Regions from separate parts of the Homo sapiens genome. Here all the other regions are linked to region 1. Evidence: promoter capture Hi-C in 16 types of primary human blood cells and fetal thymus (Javierre and others, 2016). All regions are on one chromosome and are shown on one strand. The core of a region is centred on a gene start or on the middle of the fragment in contact, and the rest is flanking DNA. Distances in the headings are between cores, read along the strand shown. Region 1 holds the start of ATG9A (autophagy related 9A). Region 2 holds the start of ZNF142 (zinc finger protein 142). Region 3 holds the start of CTDSP1 (CTD small phosphatase 1). Region 4 overlaps STK36 (serine/threonine kinase 36).

Evidence for each region. Contacts are between HindIII fragments. The CHiCAGO score rates a contact against its expected background, and 5 or more counts as called.
Region 2: the fragment with the promoter of ZNF142 here is called in contact with the fragment with the promoter of ATG9A in region 1 in 7 of 17 cell types (naive B cells, total B cells, naive CD4 T cells and 4 more); the score reaches 8.2 in naive B cells.
Region 3: a contact is called between the fragment with the promoter of CTDSP1 here and the fragment with the promoter of ATG9A in region 1, in 7 of 17 cell types (total CD4 T cells, total CD8 T cells, non-activated CD4 T cells and 4 more). The highest score is 8.7, in total CD4 T cells.
Region 4: a contact is called between a fragment that was not itself captured here and the fragment with the promoter of ATG9A in region 1, in 2 of 17 cell types (total CD8 T cells and activated CD4 T cells). The highest score is 6.9, in total CD8 T cells.

The regions. Positions count from the first base shown.
Region 1 is chr2:219,228,346-219,231,360 of GRCh38, reverse strand. It overlaps ATG9A (autophagy related 9A), which reads left to right and starts at 1,725. Exons shown (of 16, transcript NM_001077198.3): 1 at 1,725-1,826; 2 at 2,876-2,927. ANKZF1 (ankyrin repeat and zinc finger peptidyl tRNA hydrolase 1) reads right to left here and starts at 1,555. Exons shown (of 14, transcript NM_018089.3): 1 at 1,461-1,555; 2 at 956-1,133. The coding sequence starts at 1,103. RefSeq lists enhancers at 1,361-1,470, 1,141-1,688, 1,689-2,236, 2,237-2,785 and silencers at 1,621-1,750, 1,961-2,010. The HindIII fragment of the contact is 5,267 bases long and covers 1-3,015 here.
Region 2 is chr2:218,658,108-218,660,872 of GRCh38, reverse strand. It overlaps ZNF142 (zinc finger protein 142), which reads left to right and starts at 1,250. Exons shown (of 11, transcript NM_001379659.1): 1 at 1,250-1,504; 2 at 1,743-1,893; 3 at 1,997-2,172. BCS1L (BCS1 ubiquinol-cytochrome c reductase complex chaperone) reads right to left here and starts at 1,190. Exons shown (of 8, transcript NM_001079866.2): 1 at 1,130-1,190. RefSeq lists enhancers at 1,067-1,196, 2,007-2,126. The HindIII fragment of the contact is 10,571 bases long and covers 1-2,141 here.
Region 3 is chr2:218,398,439-218,401,275 of GRCh38, reverse strand. CTDSP1 (CTD small phosphatase 1) reads right to left here and starts at 1,408. Exons shown (of 7, transcript NM_021198.3): 1 at 1,119-1,408. The coding sequence starts at 1,185. RefSeq lists silencers at 961-1,120, 1,281-1,360, 1,431-1,800, 2,491-2,760. The HindIII fragment of the contact is 4,794 bases long and covers 1-2,837 here.
Region 4 is chr2:218,700,907-218,704,000 of GRCh38, reverse strand. It overlaps STK36 (serine/threonine kinase 36), which reads right to left. Exons shown (of 27, transcript NM_015690.5): 27 at 1,286-2,135. The coding sequence ends at 1,992. Among named protein-coding and RNA genes, the nearest start is that of TTLL4, 8.4 kb to the left of the region's middle. The HindIII fragment of the contact is 889 bases long and covers 947-1,835 here.

The DNA of each region.
Region 1 (3,015 bases), core at 476-2,975:
CCCTGGGCATTCTGGAAAAGAATCCGATGAGGGTAAAAGCCTTGGGGTCGGTTAAACTTCTCCAACGTAGCCCTCTCCCGAGATCCAGCGTCTGCAAGTCCTCCCCACTGGCTGAGTTTGAGTCTTGTCTAATTTAAATTAGCCAAACAGATTGTTTAGGTGAATCCTAAAGAAAATAATTTCTGTTCAGTTTAAAATTATTTTTCACTGCACAAAAACTACTTCCCAAATGCTTTTTAAAGTTTACATTTCCAATTAGTGTACAGTTTGTCTAAGGAGAGGTGCAAGAAAAGATGTAGCCAAACTAAAGTTACACAAAACAGGACCGACACGGTGGCTCATGCCTGTAATCTCAGCACTTTGGGAGGCTGACCCAGGCGGATCACTTGAGGCCAGGAGTTTGAGACCAGCCTGGCCAACATGGTGAAACCCCGTCTCTACTAAAAATACAATAATTAGCCGGGCATGGTGGTGCGGGCCTGTAGTCCCAGCTACTCGGGAGGCTGAGGCAGGAGAATCACTTGAACCCGGGAGACGGAGATTGCAGTGGGTGGAGATCGTGCCACTGCACTTTAGCCTGGGCGACAGAGCGAGACTCTCAAAAAATAAAGCTATACGAAACAAATAATAAATTGTTTCATATTCAGCAAAAAGGAATAATTTGAGTGGGGCCTGGTTAAATGTGGAATACATCTGAGAATTTTATCTCTACAAAGTTTAAAGTGTTTTTGAAGGGAATGGTGTTAACGTGAGGAGATACATGCAATGGCAAAAAGACTTGTTTGAAAACAAGGGCTGTGCTGGACATTACCCAGAGATTAAGTGAATTTAATCAAGCAGAAAGATAAATCAATTGGCCTCCTAAGCTCGGGAATACCAATAAGAATGTGTTCCCTGAACGGGCAATACGCTGTAAGGAGCCCTGTCACGTTTCACACGAAACCTTCCAGGATACCTGAACAGGAAGTACGCGGAGCCCGGGCCAGAGCCTCCCCAGGCGCGTGGCTCACCAGGCTCAGGCCCTGAAAGACCGGAGCATCCGCGCTGAGGTCAAACAGGGAGATCGACGCAGGAGCCGGGGCTGCATCTGGAGCCGGCGACATGGCTGAGCAGAAATTATTTAGCAGCAGCTCCTGGAGTAGAAAGCGTGTAAGAAACAGGGCTCCTGCAAACGAGATCCTACTGCTGCGTCTCCTGCCTGCCTGACTTGGTTTCTCCTGCACCGCAAGACTTCTCGTCTCTCATCCTGCTACCAACTGTGAGATGAATACCTTGGCCCCCGTCCACTTTCTCAAACCCCCAGTCTCAGCCCACAAAAGAATGAAATAGGCATTCGGCTCCCAAATCGAGTCCAACAGAGTTAAAAATCACTGAGCTTGCCTAGCCGAACTTTCTTCGTTACCCATGCGACCAGCAACAACTGGCCCGCGTAAACTCGCCCACGCCCTTAGAAGACGCACCAAACGTCCCGGGAGCTGAGCGGCTCGCAAGTCCTCAGGTCGATTGCCGGATTTCTGCAACACAACAATCCCCGTCACTACGGAGCAGCGAAGAGGACAACCGGCGGCGTCCGCACCTGAGCCCCGCCCCACGTAGAGCACACTATTGGGCCGCTGACTGTCCAAGACCCGCCTCGAGACTTTAGTCCCGTCCCTGAAGCCGAGAATTGGCCGTTGTGTCTCCGCCCCCCGTGCTTATTGGCCAGCCTGGCTGCGGGTGACAGTGAGTGGCAGACACCCGGCCTAGCGCCGCGGGTCGCGCCGAGCCGAGCCGAGCCGAGCGGAGCCGGCGGAGCCTCTGGAATCACCCGGGTCGCTGTTCCTGAGGTAAGACGTGAGACCGGTTATTGGAATCCCAGGCCCCGTGTCTGGCCTTGCCCAGGGGTGCCTGCGGAGCCCTAAGTGAGCTCGCGGCGGGTAACGGAGGAAGGGGCGCCGCCGGCGGGGCGGGGGCGCGCAGCCGGAATGTTTTGATTGCTGGCGCGCGCAGACGGGGGCGCGCGCGGGCGCCGGGGCCGCGCGCGAGGTTGTCCGCTGTTGGGAGCTGCCAGCCCTTGGCCTGGGGCCGGGCGACCCTGGGGCGAGGTGGACTCCGGTCCACGGTCGCCGCGGCTGGGTGTGGGGAGGCAAGCCAACCCACCCGGGCTATCAGCTGTAAGGCTGACTCGATCCCTGCAACATCCGCAGGAACCCCTGAGCCCAGGCCCAGCCGGCCGGGGCTCCACGGGCCCTGGTCCACACTGACCCTGTGAGTGGTGACTTCCCTGAGGGGCAGGGCTCTCACTAGCCCAGGGAATCCCACCGGGGCCAGGCTGGGCCAAGATCCACGGCCCCCAGGGGCTGCACGGACAGGTGAGTACCACCTCGACCATGCCTGGCTTACAGGACCTAGGGAACCCACAAATTCACCTAGGATCGGGGGTCTACACTGACCCAGTCAAGGTTTCCCATCCAGAAGGTTTGCTCACCGGCTGGATCTTTGGTGCTAGGGAAGTAAGAGAAGGGGTTGACCAGAAAGGTCCTCTTCAGGAAAGACTCTTGAGGTTTTGTGGACCCTGAGAAGTATGTCATTTCTGAGGCTAAGGTAGGGCAATGGAGAAATAGTCCAGAGGCGCCCCTGGCCTCAGGTCTGTACCCACTCATTCTCCATGGGGTCCCTAAGTTACTTCTTGAGACCCTGGAGTTGGAAGAGTGGCCCGGTTTAGCACAGCCAGAGGAAGTGCTCGTAGTCCTGGGCTGGAAGGGTGCTTCTTCCCCACTGCAGCCTTCCTGCCCCATGCTTGGCCTCCTCTTGGTGGGGTGTGGATGGCTGGGAGGGTTGGGTTCCTTTTTATCCCCACTGCCCACTCTCTGGGGCCTGACATCTTCTCCTCCAGCAGCTGCAGAGCATCGAGGGCTGGAGAGGAGCACATACTGTCCATGGAGCTGGTAGGGCCATGTGCTTTTCTCAAACATTTGTTTGTGAAGTGCTTCCAAACTGTTAGTCTCTTGGGAGACCAGGGTTCCCAGGATGGGC
Region 2 (2,765 bases), core at 1-2,500, 570 kb after region 1:
CCACAGGTCAGCATTACTGTGTGGGTCAATACCCTCCTTTTGTGGGGTAAGGGTGGTATTGGAATGCAAGGGTGGAGGCTCCAGGTCCCTCATCCCATTTTGTCCTTCATTAGTCTACTCATACCTGTTTCCTACCAGAGGACCATGTCTGGAGATGCCTTAAACCAAAAAGAGCTATATAAACAGGCTTCACATCAGGGTAATGGATGGACAGGATTTTTGTGGTCCCTGGGACCAGCTATGATAAAAAGGGGTCCATTGGCTGCAGTCAGCAAGGGAGAAGCGTCCGTTGACTTGTCAGTAACCCTATGTCTTGTTATGAGTAATGTCCTTCAAATATCCTCCCCCTTACGTCCCCAATATTTAACGTCTTGTTTAGACCTTTATTACCTCCCACCTAAACTGTCTTTAAAATCGTAGTTCTTGAAATGGCATTTTAATAGGTCTTCACCTCCTGCTTCACGGAACATCTACACAAGGGTCCAGATCTTTCATCATAGGGATCAGCTCCAATACCATATCTCTCTCTGCTCCAGCACCTTCAATGGCTGGCTCCCAGCAGACCCCTGAATTGGGTATAAACTCAGCCTGGTACTCAAGGCTCTCTACAATACGGCGCCCACCTACCTTTCATGGATTAGCTCCTAACACTACCTGTTTAGCAAATATGCAAATACGCAACAAATATGTTCAACAAGTAAGCAACCTCCCAACTCCTTGCTCATGCAGTGCTCTTGGCTCGGAATGCCCGTTCTTTTCTCCCTCATTCTCCCCAAATGAAAATCTGCCCATCTGCTACTTTCTCCACGGATCGTCACATCGTAGACAATAAGATCCTGAGGGACAAGAGCAAAGTTGTTTCTAGTACACCTCTCCTCCAACCCCGAACCCCGGCCACTTTGCCCTGCGCCTGGCATGCAGGGAGGTGAGCTGACAGCAGTGACCTCGGCTGAGCCTCAGAACTGGGATCCAGAATTCCAAAACACCTATGCATGGAAGGCCACAGACAAAGCTCTCCCGTCCCCGGCCCCTCCGCGACACCCAGGAACCCCCTCCTGAACCTCGCCCACACCCCAGCTCGCGCCTCCAGCCACATGGTTTGGGGTAACCCGTCACTCAGCCCTCTCACCGCCGTGACTCTCTGGCCCTCCGTCTCGATGGTTTCACCGCGCCTGCACCTTGGGGAAGCTGCGTTCGGCCCCGCCCCGGGTCCTTTCATCTACTTCCCGCCACACCCACAGAGAAGCCCACGCCACTCTACCCCAGAGCTCTCGATGGTGCTTCTCCGGCTTCAGGGCTGGAGTGGGGGTGGAGGGCGGGAAAAACCACAGAGACAAAACATAGAGTACCCCGGCAGCCGGCAAGAGGAAGAGAGAGTGGCTTCCACATCCCCAATATCCTAGAGGCGGCTGAGCCGGAGGCGGTCGCACAAAGCGGGCCCCGGGGGCCGTTCCAGCCGCGGCCGACCATAGAGATGCGGCTCCCGCCGGCTCTGGGTCTGGAGGTGAGTGAGCGGCTGCGGGGCGGAACTGGGAAGGGAATGCGGGTGGAGCGAGCTGGAGGCAAAGTTTTTCGAGCCCCGGGATCAGGGTGGGCCTGGGCGCTGGGAACTCTCGGAAGGAGGTACTGAAGGGAGCACCCAGACGAGCTGGGCCCCGGCGCTGCAGTCGCGTCACGGTTCTGGACCCCGCCCGGGTACCTGCTGCTCTCAGGACAAAATCATGACGATGCTCCATCCCAAGCCTTCCAGGTTACAAACCGCCTTTCCAGTTCGCTGGCTCTTATGATCCAGCTCCTGCCCGACGATGTGGACACTGTCATCACCTCCATTTTACAGATAGGAAAGCTGAGGCCCAGAGAAGCGAAGCGACTGTGTCTGTCCAAGACCACGCGGTGAGTCAGAGCCAGAGGCAGGTGGGAACCTGGGTCGCTAGGCCGGGGCCCGTTGTTTCTCCAGGCCTTCTCTCTGCCTTAGTCTGTCCTTTCTCTTCCTCAGCCCTCCTGCCCGGAAGATAAGCGTATTTCTTCTCTGGTGCCCACCTGTCTCCTACCTCACCCTGCCCTCCCGCAGGTGAAGGTTCTTAATCTTGACGGCTCAGCGTCCTCCTTGGCTCCCCCCGGAGGCCATGTATGGTCAAGCTTGAAGATTCCCCAGAACAGCGATAATATTCAGTAAGTGGAGGCTGCAGTTTCCAGAGAATCCCTCTGACCACGGGAGTGCACTTTCCAGCCACCTTGTGAATCCCTGTGATCTGTTGTTTTGAGTCCATGGGATTCTGGAAATAGGGACTATCAGATTGCAGGATCTTGGTTTTTGTTTGTTTTTTTTTTGAGACGGAGTTTCGCTCTTGTTGCCCAAGCTGGGGTGCAATGGTGCGATCTCGGCTCACTGCAACCTCCGCCTCCCGGGTTCCAGCGATTCTCCTGCCTCAGCCTCCCGAGTAGCTGGGATTACAGGCGTGTGCCACCACACCCTGCTGATTTTTTGTATTTTTAGTAGAAACAGGGTTTCACAATGTTCGCCAGGCTGGTCTCGAACTTCTGACCTCAGGTGATCGGCCCGCCTTGGCCTCCCAAAGTGCTGGGATTACAGGCCTGAGCCACCGCGCCCGGCCTGGTTTCTTCTTCTTTTTTTCTTTTTGCATCTTGTCTGTGACTCAATTTCATGAAGTGATTCCCATCATTCTTATTAATTACTAATTATTCAGCTTAAACTCATTTTAGCCATGTATAACAGGGTATGCAATTCAATTGTCATTCATTCC
Region 3 (2,837 bases), core at 159-2,658, 830 kb after region 1:
CACAGCCTCCATGACTGCTGCTGATCAGCCCCATTGCGGTGCCTCCTGACCCCACCTTACCTGAGCACCCCTGCTCAGGACAGCCAGGGCCTGGGACCCAGGGCAGTCCACCCCTGCCCTCCCTCCATCCTCTCCACCCCCGTGGGTACGAAGTCCTCACTGCGGCTGGGCCCAGAGGCAGGGGTGCAGTCCCGCGGCCTGGGGCCAGTGTCCAGTGGCCATCTGTTTGCCCTGCCCCGCCCAGACCTCCGACCTGGAGCCCAGCAGCCTGATTGACAGATACCCCTCCCACCCCACCCCCCTCCGGCCCCCTGCAACTAGCCTTTCCACCTTGCCCTCAGTTCCGGGGCAGCCAGACCCAGGCGAGGGTGGGCAGACCTGGGGGCAGCGTCCAGATCCTGAGGTCCACACGGGGAAAAGGAGAAGACAGACCCCCCCACCCCGGCCCAGCCACGCTGGGGGACGCAGCCTCGTCGGGGCGGCGAGGCTTTGCGGGGTGGTGCGTGCCCACTAGGCGCACGACTCTCCCCGCGGGCGCCAAGCGACTCTTGGAAGTGCCGGCCGTCCTCTCTGTGCCTCCGAGGGGGTCGGCGCCTCCACGCGTGACGCGAAGTTTGTGGGGAACGTAGCTGTGTGTTGGCGGGAGATCCCTCCAAGCCTCCCCAGCCTGCTGTCACCTCGGCGCCCCCTCCCAAGACCCTACCGGACCGCAGCCCGGGGGGGTGGGGGTGGGGGGTGGGGCGGAGTCTCAGCGGGTGGCCCATAGGCGCCCTCCTCAGCTCCCCCATCTCCCAGCCCCATTGGCGCCAATGGTGGGGGGGCGCCCATGCACCACGCAATGCCTGCCAGGAAACCCCCGAAGAGTTCCCTCTCTATTCCTGCCTCAGTTTCCTCACCTCGAGCGAACAGGAGCGCCCCAAAGGCGCCAGGCCCCGCCCCGCGTCTCTGAGCCTCCTCTGAGTTCAAACTCTCTCCCTGCTCCCTCTCGGGCTGGGAGCTTCGGGCACAGCTAAGGCGGCCGCCCGGGGCGGCGGCGGCGGCTCCCCTGGGGAAGATCCCGGCCCCTTCTCTCCTCCCACGGCGCCCCGGCTTCGGCCCCCTCCCCGCAGCCCCGGTACCTTTGCCCCGCAGCGGGCCCCGAGCCTCCTCCTTGCTGATCTGAGTAATGACGGCCGAGCTGTCCATGGGGCCGGGCGCGCTCCGCTCCGGCCGGACTCTGGCCCGGGCGCCCGGCCTCCCCCCCGGCTGGGGCCGGAATCGGGGCGCGGGGGGGAGGGGAGGGGTGGGAGGGAGGGATCCCCGCGAGCTCCGGAGGGGAGGGGAGCCAGGTTCTAGGGGGGAGGGGGAGGGAGGGGGCGCGGAGGAAACTTTGTTACAACATGGAGTTTCCTTCCCGCGAGGCGGATGCAAACATGGAACCCAGGCGCCGTTTCAAGGCTCCCCCTTAAAAGGGCAACGGCTTCGGCGTGACCTGGACTCGGCTGCGGCTTTCGCCACTTCTGGGACCGGCGCGGCTAGGCGGACTGGGAGGCGGGCCGGGCCGGGTTCCTGCCGCGCTCCAGGGGGCGTCGCCTCCCTTCCTGCCGCCCGCCGGCGGGGCTGAGTCTCTGCGGCTGCGTGGCAGGCCCGGCACCCGGCTCACCGTTCCAGGCCGCCGAGCGCCCTCGGCCAAGGCCCGCCCGCCGGGAGCGCCCACGCCGGGGAGTGCCCGAGTGCGGCGCGGCTCCACCTCTGCGTTTTCTGAAGACCCGGGACTAGAGGCTTCTCGGTTTCCTCGTTGAGGACTTGGAGATAGCACTACCTCATCTGTAAAATGGGTCTTCTCTCCTGTCTGGTGGTCGCAGAGATCACCTCGCAAGGACGTCAAGAGCCAGCGAAGGCTCTGCTGGCCCGAAACAGCTGTGCAAACCTCAGAATCACGCTCTTGAATGGGACGGTCGCCGCCCCCCGCAGCCCCAGGGCGAGGTGCCCCCGGTCTGTAGGACGTGAAATTCTAACTCTCTGCCCTGGGAAAGCCCCCTGCCGACCTCTCCCCACGGCCCCACCCGGGGCCCCGCACGTCTACCCGCCGCGCACGGGCCACCGCGCGTTCCCGCCTGAAGTTTTCGTACGCGCTGTTCCTTTCGCGTAGCCAAATTCCACCGACCTCGAGGAAATGCCACCTTCTCCAGGGGCCTTCCCAGACCCCCTCCCCTGCCCGCGGTCGACGGCCGCCCTGTGATTACTGGGGGTGCGGTGGGAGTCACTGGACTCGCTGCCGATCCTAGGAGCCCAGCACGGCGCCGCACGCGGTGGGCCCAAAGCCCGACCGTGGGGGACCTCAAACCAGAGGCCCTCAAGGCCCGTTCCACCCGGCCTGTGGCGCAGTGCTGGGCACTTGGGAACGGAGGTCCCTGTCTTCTCGCTGCAAGCCCCTCCGTGGTGCGCGCCGTGGGTCTGCGGGTTGGTCTTTTTCCTCGTTTATGAAGTTCTTTTCACTCGTCGTTACTATTTTGTAAGTTCACCATTTAAAAATTAATAATGCCAAGCCCGACAAACACCCCTCGGCACTTCCTCCCCTCCCCCTCTCCCGCGGGCCTCCGTGGCGGGGCGGGGCGGGCGCGTCCTGTCCCGTCCGGCCGCCGGGTGCGACGCGGCGCACGTCCGCCAGGCCCTGCCGAGGGGGAGCCGGGGAGGGGAGGCCCCGCGCGGGGGCCGGGAGGGGAAGGGAGGGGAGCGGCGTCTGCCAGAAGGCGCGGCGGCTTCGTGCGCTGAGGCTGGGAGTAGGGGCGGGAGGGGACTGTCGGGGACTGATACCCCGGTCCCCGGGCTGGATCCCTCGGCCCTCCTCCTGCTCC
Region 4 (3,094 bases), core at 142-2,641, 530 kb after region 1:
TGTTCCATGTTCAAAATATATTCAAAATTTGACTACTTTTTTATCACTCCATAGGTATCACCCCAGTCGCCATCCAGGACACCATTGTCTCTTGCCTGGATTATTATAACAATAGCCTCCTAACTGCTTATCCTACTTCGCATTCTCCCCTACTCCCCATAGCCATTCACAAGACCAGAATGAAGAATGATCCGTTTAGGATGCAAGGTAGTTCATAAAATTCTCTGTTCAAAAGCCTGCAATAGATGCCTCCTTCATTCAAAGTAAGAGCCCAAGTCTTCACCAAGGTCTACAAAGCCTACAATATCTGGCCCCCACCATTACCTTCCTGTCTCATTTCCTACTATTCTCCACCTTCTTTACTCACTTAATCCATACTGGTTCCTCATAGCTCCTCAAGCATGCCAGGCATGCTTTCATCTCAGGGCCTTGGCTTTTCCCCAAAATAGGTGCACAACTCACTCCCTCGCCTCCTTCGAGTCTTTTCTCAAGTGTCACCTTCTAGTGAGGCCTACCCTGACCATCCGACTCAGCACTCCTCATCTCCTTTCCCTGGTTTCTTTTTCTCCATAGCTTTTACCACCTTCCTACATACTATTCTTTTAATAATTTCACTATCTCCCCGACCAGAATGGAAACTCTATGATGGGCACTGTTTTATCTCCTGTACCTAGAATAGTATCTGGCATACAGAAAGGACTCAAAAAATATACATTGAACTGAATTGAGATAATCTGGATAGAAGAAAATTATGGTGCTCCCTAGAAAAATATTATTTTTGCTAAAGTATAAACACTGTGGACAATGAAGATGAGGGTTAAACAAAATTTCTTATAAAAATAAGGGCACTTTACTTGTCTTTCATTTCTAAAACAACTGGAATTTAAGGAAGGACAGAAAGGAGTCTCCTCATTTTATGGATGGAGAAATCAAGGCCCTGGAAGCTTGTTCTAAGCCATCCAATGAGTTAAGGTTTTCCAATGCTTCCAGTTAGATTATAATTCTAACAGGTCTGACTAAAAGCCCTTTCTGGTAAATTGTACAATCTTTAAAATAGCTATCCTTCTACAGCAGCTTGGAGTCCCTACACATTAGAACTCCACTAAATATTAAAATTAGTCACTAAGTCTGAGCAACCTAATTGACCGCTCTGTTGAATCTTACCCTTTCCTATTTCAGCTCCACCGGCCTTGACTTGAAAGTAGGTAACCAAATATAGTTCATCTAGGAAGGGGGAAATTGGTAAAGGCAAGAAATGATATAAATAAGCTGCCAGACCAGGATCTTGTGTGAACACGATACCAGCACCTCCAACACCACATAGAAGCTGAAAGAGGGGTTGAGCCTCTCAACCCTTGTCCTGGGAGCTTCAAGTATGGTGAGGCACAACTTTTATTAAAAGAGTTTACAAACAGAACTATTAAACACACACACACATACACACACACATATACACACACACCCCAAAAAAAGATACACTCTCCACGCCCACCCACAGATAGGAATGTTGGCTAAGGGATAATCCCTCAATAACAGGGACTGATGGCATTGATCCCCACAGCCTAGAGCTGAGACAGGCTCTGTCTTCATCACTGTCCTGGGGCCAGCACGTCTAAGGCAAAAACCTGCTGGGAAGATTAAAGGAGCTCCAGAAAGGAAGAGATCTTTCAGGTTGAGGTTTTTCCCTAAGGTCCGTGAGGCAGGTCCCTAGAGTTAAAGGCACATTATTGGAGAAAAGGCCCCTGGATGTAGAGAAGAAAGGACTCTTCTCTGGCACCAACAGCAATAAAATTTACTGGTTGAAAACATCCTGCATCTGGGAGAAGGAAGAAGCTTTATATATAAATCTCTTCTAGTTTCTTGTTCTCAGTTGAGTTGGCAGCTTATCTCTTTTCTAGTCTCTTTAGCTCTCAGTTGAGTTGGCGGCTTGTGTAGTAGAATAAGAAAGAGCTGGCAACCAAAGTTGGAGGCTGGACCGCAGGAATCTGGAATCACATGCTATGGGCTGGCCTCAGGAGGTGAATGAGTTTCCTGCAGTGTTTGGCAGAGGCAGGCCTAGGACTGCTGTGTGGCAGTGACTGATTCCCCAGAGAGAGCAAGGATAGTTTCTCACTGGCACCCAGGGACACCAGTACCTGTAGGATAGAGAACAGATGATAGAACAGAACATGAGGCTCAGAAATGGTGGTGTCTGGGGCAGGTGCGGAGGACTCTCATTTACCCAGGAATTCCCACTCGAGAAGAGGAAGAAAAAGGAAATGGGCTCTTGGGGACTTGGAATAGACTGAATGGCAGAAGAGAAACCTTGGAGATAGGAATCATCAGGACCAGAAGTCTACTTCCATTCTCTTTGGTTATAGACCATGAAACCAAGGCACTAAGGGACACATATACTTGTCCCCAGGAAGACTTGATGAATGCAGCAGTAACTCACAGTAAGCCAAAAGGTCTAATTCCTAGCCTTCAATGCAGACCAGTGAGTTCTAACCTCATTACCACCAAGAATCCCATTAATTATTTTCCCCATGGATTGCACAAGATTCCTATAGGATCTTCACCATCGGCCAGGCAAGGTGGCTCATGCCTGTAATCCCGTACTTTGGGAGGCCAAGGCGGGCGGGTCACGAGGTCAGGACATCGAGACCATCCTGGCTATCACGGTGAAACCCCGTCTCTACTAAAAAAAAAAAAAATACAAAAAATTAGCTGGGTGTGGCGGCAGGTGCCTGTAGTCCCAGCTACTCGGGAGGCTGAGGCAGAATGGCGTGAACCCGGGAGGCAGAGCTTGCAGTGAGCCAAGATCGCGCCACTGCACTCCAGCCTGGGGGCGACAAAGTGAGACTCCGTCTCAAAAAAAAAAAAAAGATCTTCACCATCCTCTCAAATTTCTGCTCTGCATGAACTTCCCAATGCTACCACTTTGAGATGTCATAATTTATATTACCATATGTAGATATCTGTGATTTCCAATGGGCTTTTTTTTTTTTTTGAGACAGAGTCTCGCTATGTCACCCAGGCTGGAATGCAGAGGCATGATCTCCGCTCACTGCAACCTCCTCCTCCCAGGTTCAAGGGATTCTCTTGCCTTAGCCTC